Regions from separate parts of the Homo sapiens genome. Here region 2 is linked to region 1. Evidence: promoter capture Hi-C in 16 types of primary human blood cells and fetal thymus (Javierre and others, 2016). All regions are on one chromosome and are shown on one strand. Each heading gives the region's core, a stretch centred on a gene start or on the middle of the fragment in contact. The rest is flanking DNA. Distances are from core to core; before and after follow the strand shown.

Region 1 (4,595 bases), core at 705-3,204:
GAGTGAGCCAGAGAATGCTGACCTGTAAGTCAGCCCCAGGGTGTGTGCTTTGGGGAGGGATGATGTGTAAACTCCTTCATGAGTTTTCTCACCACGGGCAAATGAAGAGTCACGTTCCTCAAGGCGTACCGTTCCATATCTGCAATAGGAGCCTGTTACCATTTCCTGATGGGCGGCATAGCTCACAAACATTTTGTGTCACCAGGCGAAACAGACTACCCTGGCACTGTATGGCTGTGTGTGTGTCTGTGTGTGTTTTCCTGAGGCACTGTATGGCTCTGTGTGTGTGTTTTCCTGAGGCACTGTATGGCTGTGTGTGTGTGTGTGTGTGTGTGTGTGTATTTTCCTGAGGGACTATATTTTCCTGAGGCATTGTATGGCTGTGTGTGTGTGTATTTTCCTGAGGCAGTTTATGGCTGTATGTGTGTGTTTTCCTGAGGCACTGTATGGCTGTGTGTGTCTTTTCCTGAGTGTGCAAGAGTACATGGGAATTCCCTCGCTCTGTATGACTGTGTGTGTGTGTGTGTGTTCCTCAGGCAGTGTATGGCTGTGTGTGTGTGTGTTTTCTTGAGGAAGTGTATGGCTGTGTGTGTGTGTGTGTTTTCCTGAGGTACTGTATGGCTTTGTGTGTGTGTTTTCCTGAGTGTGCAGGTGTATGTGGGAATTCCCTGACACTGTATATCTGTGTGTGTGCGTTTTCCTGAGTGTGCAGGAGTACGTGATAATTTCCTGCTAGGATGGAATGACTTCCGGGTCCATGAGTGTGGAATTAGGGTCAGCTCTGGGTTCTCATGCCTTCTTGCCTTCTTTGTTTTTTAGGAGGTCATGTTTCTAGGGACTCAGTCTGCCTTCATGAAGAACAGACACAGGCAGCAGGGATGGTGGCTGGCTGGCTGATAAATTGTTACCAGGTATGCCAAAACTGTATTTTTTCTTAAAATAACATACTGGTATTCAGCAGATAGACAAGTTTCTGTCTGAGCAGACTTGTCTGCACAGCCTCACTCAAGGACCGAGTCCCTAGTTGAACGCCTCCAGGGAGAAGAGCCTGGCTGGTCAGGTGTTACTGTGAAAATCCTCCCCGTATTTCAGTGTTACTTTTTTTTTTTGAGACGGAGTCTCGCTTTGTCGCCCAGGCTGGAGAGCAATGGCCCAATCTCGGCTCACTGCAATCTCCGCCTCCCAGGTTCAAGCAATTCTCCTGCCTCAGCCTCCCAAGTAGCTGGGATTACAAGTGCCCACCAGCATGCCTGGCTAATTTTTGTATTTTTAGTAGAGACGGGGTTTTGCCATGTTGGCCAGGCTGGTCTTGAACTGCTGATCTCAAGTGATCCACCCGCTTTGGCCTCCCAAAGGGCTGGGATTACAGGCTTGCACCACTGCGCCCAGCCACAACATTACTCATTATTTTCACCCTTGTGCCAAATGCGTGTTTCGTACTTTGCTTAGTGCTCTGACACATGGTAAGGAAGGGGAAGGTATCCTCTCTGGGAACTTATTTCCACATCACGAGTTACCACTTGTTTGTAGTGTGCTCAGGAGAGGGACATAAGGCGAGGGGAGTGCCCAGTGAGCGTGGTGAGAGAAGCTCACATGTTAGAGGTGTCGTTGCGGCCGTGTGACTGGAGGAGAGCGACAGGGTGCGCGTGACTGGAGGAGCGCGACAGGGCACGCGTGACTGGAGGAGAGCGACAGGGTGCGCGTGACTGGAGGAGAGCGACAGGGCGTGTGTGCGGGCAGAGAAGGGTTCCTGGGACCACTGGGCCATGGGGTAGACAGTAGGAGGCCTCACAGTCCCATAGGCGTAGGGCCCCGCCTCCTCATTCTTCAGTGAATACCGATGGACACGTTGGAAGGCTCCAACCGTCATGTGTGATGATTTAGGACGCGGTGACCTTTGACGACGTGGCTGTGGACTTCACCCAGGAGGAATGGACTTTACTGGACCCATCTCAGAGAGACCTCTACAGAGATGTGATGCTGGAAAACTACGAGAACCTGGCCTCAGTAGGTGAGGCTGCCACCGTCCTTTGCAACTTCTGTGGAACCAATACTTGATGTGTCCTTACTGTGTTCCAGGGTTGGTGACGGCAAAGCCGAGTACCACGGGAAGTAAGAGATATAACAACTGTGCTAGTAGGCTTGGTGCTAGTGTGGTCGTTTCCAGAATGTGGTCCTGGGGTCATGAGCATCACCGTCACTCCTCTAGAAACATGCATTCTGAGGCTTCAGCTGGGACACATTGGATCAGAATGTCTCCTGGGGGTGGGCCTGTCATCTCTCCTGTAACAAGCCCTCCCGACGATGCCAATTCACTCTAACACTGAGAACCACTGGGTAGTAGTTTCCCAAGTGAATGAAGATCTCTTATTGCACTTCTGTTATTTCCTATTTGAGTAAGAGTCTTTGTGGTTTTTACGTGTATATTTAAGCCTGAATGTGGGCTTCAGGAATCAGAGATAACCAGTTTCTTTGGGGCGCAGAAGGATGGAGTATTTGCACTTTGAGCCCTTTTGAAACAATTTCACTGCATTCTTTAGAAATGTAGTTCCTGGCATGCCACTGCACTCCAGCCTGGGTGACAGAGCGAGACTCCATCTCAAAAAAAAAACAAACGTAGTTCCTGGCCGGGCGCGGTGGCTCATGCCTGTAATCCGAGCACTCTGGGAGGCTGGGTGCAGTGGCTCAGGGCTGTAATCCCAGCACTCTGGGAGGCCGGGCGCGGTGGCTCAGGGCTGTAATCCCAGCACTCTGGGAGGCCAGGCGCAGTGGCTTAGGGCTGTAATCCGAGCACTCTGGGAGGCTGGGTGCAGTGGCTCAGGGCTGTAATCCGAGCACTCTGGGAGGCTGGGTGCAGTGGCTCAGGGCTGTAATCCCAGCACTCTAGGAGGCCAGGCGCAGTGGCTCAGGGCTGTAATCCCAGCACTCTGGGAGGCAGGGTGTGGTGGCCACGCCTGTAATCCCAGCACTCTGGGATGCTGGACGCAGTGGCTCATGCCTGTAATCCCAGCACTTTGGGAGGCTGGGCGCAGTGGCTCACGCCTGTAATCCGAGCACTCTGGGACGCCAGACGCAGTGGCTCATGCCTGTAATCCTAGCACTTTTGAGAGGCCGGGGTGGGCGGATCACAAGGTCAGGAGATTGAGACCATTCTGACCAACACGGTGAAACCCCATCTCTACTAAAAATACAAAAAACTAGCCAGGCGTGGTGGCGGGCACCTATAGTCCCAGCTACTTAGGAGGCTGAGGCAAGAGAATCACTTGAACCCAGGAGGCAGACGTTGCAGTGAGCCGAGATTGCACCACTGCACTCCAGCCTGGGCAACAGCGCGAGACGCTGTCTCAAAAAATAATAAAAAAAAGGAAATGTAGTTCCTGTTCACGGGTAGGTTTGTCATCCCCTGCCTGAGCCTCTTCCATCGATGTCTCTTTCCCTGTGTACAGGACATCACCTGTTCCAACCCAGTGTGATCTATTGGCTGGAGCAGGAAGAGGAGTTGAGGGCAGGGCGGAGAGCAGTTCTCCAAGGTAAGTGTGAAGAGCACGCCTGGTCGATGTCAAGTTTAGCAGCTGTGGGAGGATCCTGAGTGTCAAGTTTAGCGGCTATGGAAGGATTGTGTCAAGTTAAGCGGCTGTGGGAGGATCCTGAGTGTCGAGTTTAGCGGCTGTGGAAGAATCCTGAGTGCACGTTTTAAGATGCATTCTGGCACAGAACATGAGGCTGTTGGCTCTGGGTATCCTGAGCTTCCCGTAATTCCTTATTTTCCATCTGATCTGGATTTTCCCTTTCTTGTGATCTCATAAAAAACCTGCTGTTTTGTTCTTTCAGTTTGTGGGTTTTTTTTTTTTTTTTTTTTTTGAGACGGAGTCTTGCTCTGTTGCCCAGGCTGGAGTGCAGTGGCACAATCTTGGCTCACTGCAAACTCTGCCTCCTGGGTTCACTCAGTTCTTCTGCCTCAGCCTCCTGAGTAGCTGGGATTACAGGTGCGTGCTGCCACGCCTGGCCAAGTTTGTGTTTTGAATGTATGCCCTTTGTCCAGCTCTTTCCTGCTTTCTTTCATTGATAATATTGTTTCTGTTCACCTCACATTTCTTCTTTATGGACCAAATGTATTTTAAAATCTTCTAAATTATGACTCCCAGTTCCTATGATTCCAAATTTTACACATAGCCAAACTCCTTAAATCTATCTTTGCTTTGTTTTTTTTTCTGCCATGTCTTATATGAAAACAAATACCAATGAGTTTGATCGTTTTTAGGTCATTCTTCTTTCTTTTCAGAATGGCGACTTAAAACCAAAGGGCCAGCACTTCGGCAGGATAGATCTTGGTTCAGAGCATCAAATGAGACACAGACGGTAAGATTAACAAGAGAGATTTTTTTATTTATCACACTCATAAAAGATTGGGAATTCCACTATAGAAAATGAGCAAAATTGAGAGAATTTAGAGAAGCAGGATTCACTCAGGCAGGGGTTGTCTGTAGAGAACACTCTGAATGTGCGGAATTTGGGAGGACCTCATCCTGTCTTGAAACTTGGTGCTTCAGACACACATCAGCGCACACATGACGAGGTCTTGAGATCGCAGAGCT
Region 2 (4,595 bases), core at 828-3,327, 520 kb before region 1:
AGGCAAAGGCTGTGTGAAAAGCTCTTGCAGGACCCGCGGTGAGACTAGGATGGTCGTCATTCTACCAAGAAAAGCATGGCAGAGGGGAGTTTTATAGGAAAGATGCTCCACAATTCCATGTGGTTCTGCATTCTGTGTTATGGAAACTACATTTTAGGAAAAGACATATTTGAAAAAGAAGGGCAAAGACCAATTTGTGCAGGTTAGGAAAGTGGAGATGCTGTGGCCGACCACACGGTGAAGGTGTTGGCACCCAAAGCCTACGGGAGGCTTTTCTAAAACAAGGCCTAAGTCAAGCCTCACAGCGCTCAGTAACAGATGAGAAGGTGCGGAACACACCTTCAAACACCCGCTACCTGCTCACAAGAAGGAAGTCCTGCCAGGCGCGGTGGCTCACGCCTGTCATCCCAGCACTTTGGGAGGCTGAGACGGGCAGGTCACCGGAGGTCAGGAGTTCGAGACCAGCCTGGCCAACATGGTGAAACCCCTTGTCTACTAAAAATACAGCAATTAGCCGGGCGTGGTGGCGGGTGCCTGTAATCCCAGCTACTCTGGAGGCTGAGGCAGGAGGATCACTTGAACCCAGGAGATGGAGGTTGCGGTGAGCCGAGATGGCGCCACTGCACTCCAGGCTGGGTGACAAGAGCAAGACTCTGTCTCAAAAAAAAATATTCCCGTTCAGAGGCTGCCCCCCCAAAATGTCACGGCTAAGTGAGATGGAGGAGCAGGGGCAGAGCCTGTAGCAGCCTCACAAGAGAAGTAGGTAGAGCTGTCCCAGCGTGGGCAGGCGCCTGTGCTGCCTGACACAGGTAATGAAGGCAGCTCTGCATCCTGACACTGGCCCTGCCACCTCCGTGGGTGACCAGCACACATCCACCTAGCAGTCCCAGCTCCCTCTGTACCAGGAGCCCCTGAAGTCAGCTGACTTTGCTTGCAAAATGTTCTAGAGCCTCCTACCAGTCTGGGTGCACCCCCCTCCACTCCACCACCTCAGCAGCTTGGATGTCTGCGGGGAAGCCCTCCTGCTCTCTCTCTCCCCTGCCACTGCTGATTTTGCTCAAGAGCTGTATTATTCAGCACTTAGGAGGGAGCAGACACTGATCTAGGCTTCCTCCCAACGGGGCTGGCAGCTCCAGAATACTTGAGCACAGCTCCCCGCCAGGAGAGCCACGTCCTCCAGTTTCTGTTCCTGAAACACCCTGGAGGAGCCGGCTGTGAGCCCTGGTGCAGCTGGAAACCCCAGCAAGGTGGTCAGTGTCTGCTCCTCTGTGGACCAGCCTGCCTGGCTACTCAGTGATCGGTGTGACTCAAGTTCTCCTTCAAACAAAACTAAGAACATCAGACTCCAAACAAGCCCCTCTAAACTTTAGGGAACTCCTTTCCTCTGTAGTCAAAACAGGCAGACAGCGGGTCCGAACAAGAGTTGATAGCAAAAACTACAAGTTATTTATTTACAACTGCCCATTCCAGCCGCACAAGCCCAAATCCACCACCACTGGCGGAGCGGTGGCACCTGCTGCCCTCTGAGTACCGGAGCGCCCGCCGCAGCCGCCGGGGACCCCGAGCTTGGGCAGGGCCGCAGGTCGCCCGGTGAACCGAAGCAGCAGTCGGACCGGGCGCCTGCGGCTGGCGCGAAGGAGGCTGGGCGGGGGATGAACGCGCCCAGAGGGCAGAGGCGGCGCGGCACAGGGAAACCCGGACCCCACGCGCCCCGAGGCCCCGGCGCCCCGAGTCCCCGCGCGCCCAGTCCGGAGCTGCACCGGGGCGGCCGCCGGCCTCGCGACCCCTCCCGCGGCGGGGCACGGCCCCCTCCCCGCGGCCCCTGGGCGGGCGCGCTCACGTGTGGCCGCAGCTGCCGATGGCCACGGGCCGGTGATAGACCTCCAGGCAGATGGGGCAGGTGTACTGCGCCTCCAGGCCGCTGTCGCCGCCCGCCGGCCCGGCCGGCGGCTGCCGCTGCTGAGCCGAGGCCACCAGGCTGCGGAACATAGCCATCCCGGGGCCAGGCCCGCGCCGCCCGCCGCCCGCTGTCCTGGCCCGGGCCGGCCCGCTAGTCACAGCCGCTACTGCGCCGCGCTGACGTCATCGTAGGGCGCCGCCCCCAGCCGGGCTTCGCGGCCGTCACGGCGCCACTCCGACGTCATCGGGGCGCGCCCTCGCGCTGTCGCCGCCACAGTCTGCGACGGGACCCGGCGTGCCCATGTGTCAGGTGGGCGAGGACTACGGGGAGCCGGCGCCTGAGGAGCCGCCCCCGGCGCCGCGGCCCAGGTAAGAGCTGGCGGCCGGACCCGCCAGGCCGCCCCTCGCCTTCCCGCCGCACTCCTGCCCCGAAGGGTCCCGGCCGGGCTTGCTCCGGGAAGCCCCGCGTGGAGAGCGGGACCTCGCTCCCTAGCACTCGGGGAATGCCTGTCAAGCGGTGACGGCCACCTAGAAGGGGACTTACTCCACTGGCTCGCGCCTCTCATCCTAGCAGCCACTGGGGACGGCTCTGCCGCTGACAGTGCTGTCCTTATTCGGAGAGAACTGGTGCCGTGAAGCTGTCTCGCCTCCCCGTGTCAGCCTTGGGAGACTGAAAAGCGGCCTTTATGTGCCCCCTGAGCCGGCTTTTCTAGGCTAAACATCCCCCCAGAGCCTTTGTTTTTCTTGAAGTTTGGACAGAACACAAGCCTGGGTTTGTGTGTGTACCGAGGTGCCTTTCTCTGACCCAACTCAGGGTGAGAAACAGGAGCTGTCTCCCCAAAGCCCACTAGGCGTGGGGAAGATGTGATCTGTGTTTCTCTCTTCTCCCCCCTCCCATCTCCAAAGCCGTGAGCAGAAGTGTGTGAAGTGCAAGGAAGCGCAGCCCGTTGTGGTGATACGAGCCGGAGATGCCTTCTGCAGGTGAGGCCTGGAGGTGGCTGAGACCCTGGCAAACATGGCCTCGCTAGCAGACAGGATAGCCGCAACTTGTGATGCTTTGTTAATTCTTTTTAAAAACATGTACTTACTTTATTCCTGCTCCTGATGGGGTCCCTCGTGCCCCTGGTGTTGAAGTGGAGGCGAAAGCATTGGTTTCCTGCTTGGGAAAGTTTCCCATGAGCTAGCCACAGATCCCCTGATGAGGTTTCTGATGGAACTTATGGGGACAGTTGGAAGTGGGGCCGTGGTGTCTAGACTGGGATAAGCTGTAGGAGGACCAGGCGTTTGGGGGCAGCTGGAATACATCTAGGGGCGGATCAGAGCATCTTGGGAACTTGGCAGATGGTCTGGGTGAAAGTTTTTAATCTCGTGTGAGATGCTTGTTTCATCTGTGGCAGGATAGAGGCTTGGAAGACCTCTAGCTTTCCCCCAGGCGCTTGTCATGTCTTTCTTGGCTTGTAGCCATTGTATTGTTCAGTTGTTTCCACTAGACTCATAGCTCCCTGAAGGGAGGACCAGGTCTCTCTCCTTTTAGCCCTCTTAATTCCCAGTGGTGGTGCGTGGTTTTTTTGTTGTTGTTGTTGTTTTTTTTGAGATGGAGTCTCCCTCTGTCACCCAGGCTGGAGTGCAACAGCTGGAGTGCATGATCCCAGCTCACTGCAACCTTTACCTCCTGGGTTCAAGTGATTCTCCTGCCTCAGCCTCCTGAGTAGCTGGGATTACAGGTGCCTGCCATCATGCCCGGCCAATTGTTTTTGTATTTTTAGTAGAGACAGGGTTTCACCATGTTGGCCAGGCTGGTTTCGAACTCCTGACCTCAAGTGATCCACCTGCCTCGGCCTCCCAAAGTGCTGGGATTACAGGCATGAGCCACCACACCTGGCCAAGATAGGTACTTCTTTAACCACCCAGGAGCATCTGAAATTGCCAAGAACACCAGGCTGCCGGCAGAATTCACTGAGGAGAGGCTGCTGTGGCTGTATGCTAGGCCCTTGTGGCCAGAAGGGCTTTTGCTGTGCTTGCTGGTCCCAAGGAACAGTGGGGAGCCGGCTCTCTAGGGGAAGGCCTTAGGAATCTACATCGAGCTGGGATCCCCAGGGATCATTCAGGTCAGCACGTGGGAGAAACCTTGGCCTTCCCTGACCCACAGGGGACAGCGTGGTTTCAGGAGCCCAGACGCAGCATGTACACGTGGACCCACCACGCTTGAATCCCAGCTGGTGGTGTAGGGCGCAGAGGCTCTCCTGGTCCACAGTGCGGAGGTGAAGCCCAGCACCTGTGTCTCCTTGTATGAGACTCCCCACGCCCAAAGCTGGGTCCTGGGGGTCACTTCCCATGTCCCAGCCTTGATACTTGCCAGTTACCTGCAGTCCCTCACCTGGCATCTTGCTGTTAAACACAGACTTGCTTTACTGTCTGTAAAGGAACCACAGGGGGGTCATTCGGCCTCTTGTACGTGGTATCCATTCAACGTAGGGAGGGACTGCTGTGCACATCAAGTGTGTCTGACAGGAAGGAAGAGACTTAGAGCCCCAGGTGCAGGGTGACTCTTGCAGTGGCATTGTCCGCTCTGTACCGGGTGCTGCTCTTCACCCTGCCTGCCAGGATTGCAGGAGAGCTTTAAAATGCAGACTCCTAGGCCTCACCCCTAGACAATTTGACTTAATTGGTTTGTGCAATTCTAACATACAGCCAGG

Evidence for each region. The method cuts DNA at HindIII sites, captures the fragments that hold promoters and counts their contacts. A CHiCAGO score of 5 or more calls a contact.
Region 2: a contact is called between the fragment with the promoter of RNF166 here and a fragment that was not itself captured in region 1, in 1 of 17 cell types (naive CD4 T cells). The highest score is 6.0, in naive CD4 T cells.

The regions. Positions count from the first base shown.
Region 1 is chr16:89,221,273-89,225,867 of GRCh38, forward strand. ZNF778 (zinc finger protein 778) reads left to right here. Exons shown (of 7, transcript NM_001201407.2): 3 at 820-911; 4 at 1,885-2,011; 5 at 3,447-3,530; 6 at 4,283-4,359. Among named protein-coding and RNA genes, the nearest start is that of ZNF778, 5.9 kb to the left of the region's middle. The HindIII fragment of the contact is 7,033 bases long and covers 1-4,595 here.
Region 2 is chr16:88,704,331-88,708,925 of GRCh38, forward strand. It overlaps RNF166 (ring finger protein 166), which reads right to left and starts at 2,078. Exons shown (of 6, transcript NM_178841.4): 1 at 1,841-2,078. The coding sequence starts at 1,995. CTU2 (cytosolic thiouridylase subunit 2) reads left to right here and starts at 2,173. Exons shown (of 15, transcript NM_001012759.3): 1 at 2,173-2,268; 2 at 2,806-2,880. The coding sequence starts at 2,201. RefSeq lists an enhancer at 1,553-2,190 and silencers at 1,812-2,091, 2,132-2,441. The HindIII fragment of the contact is 28,082 bases long and covers 1-4,595 here.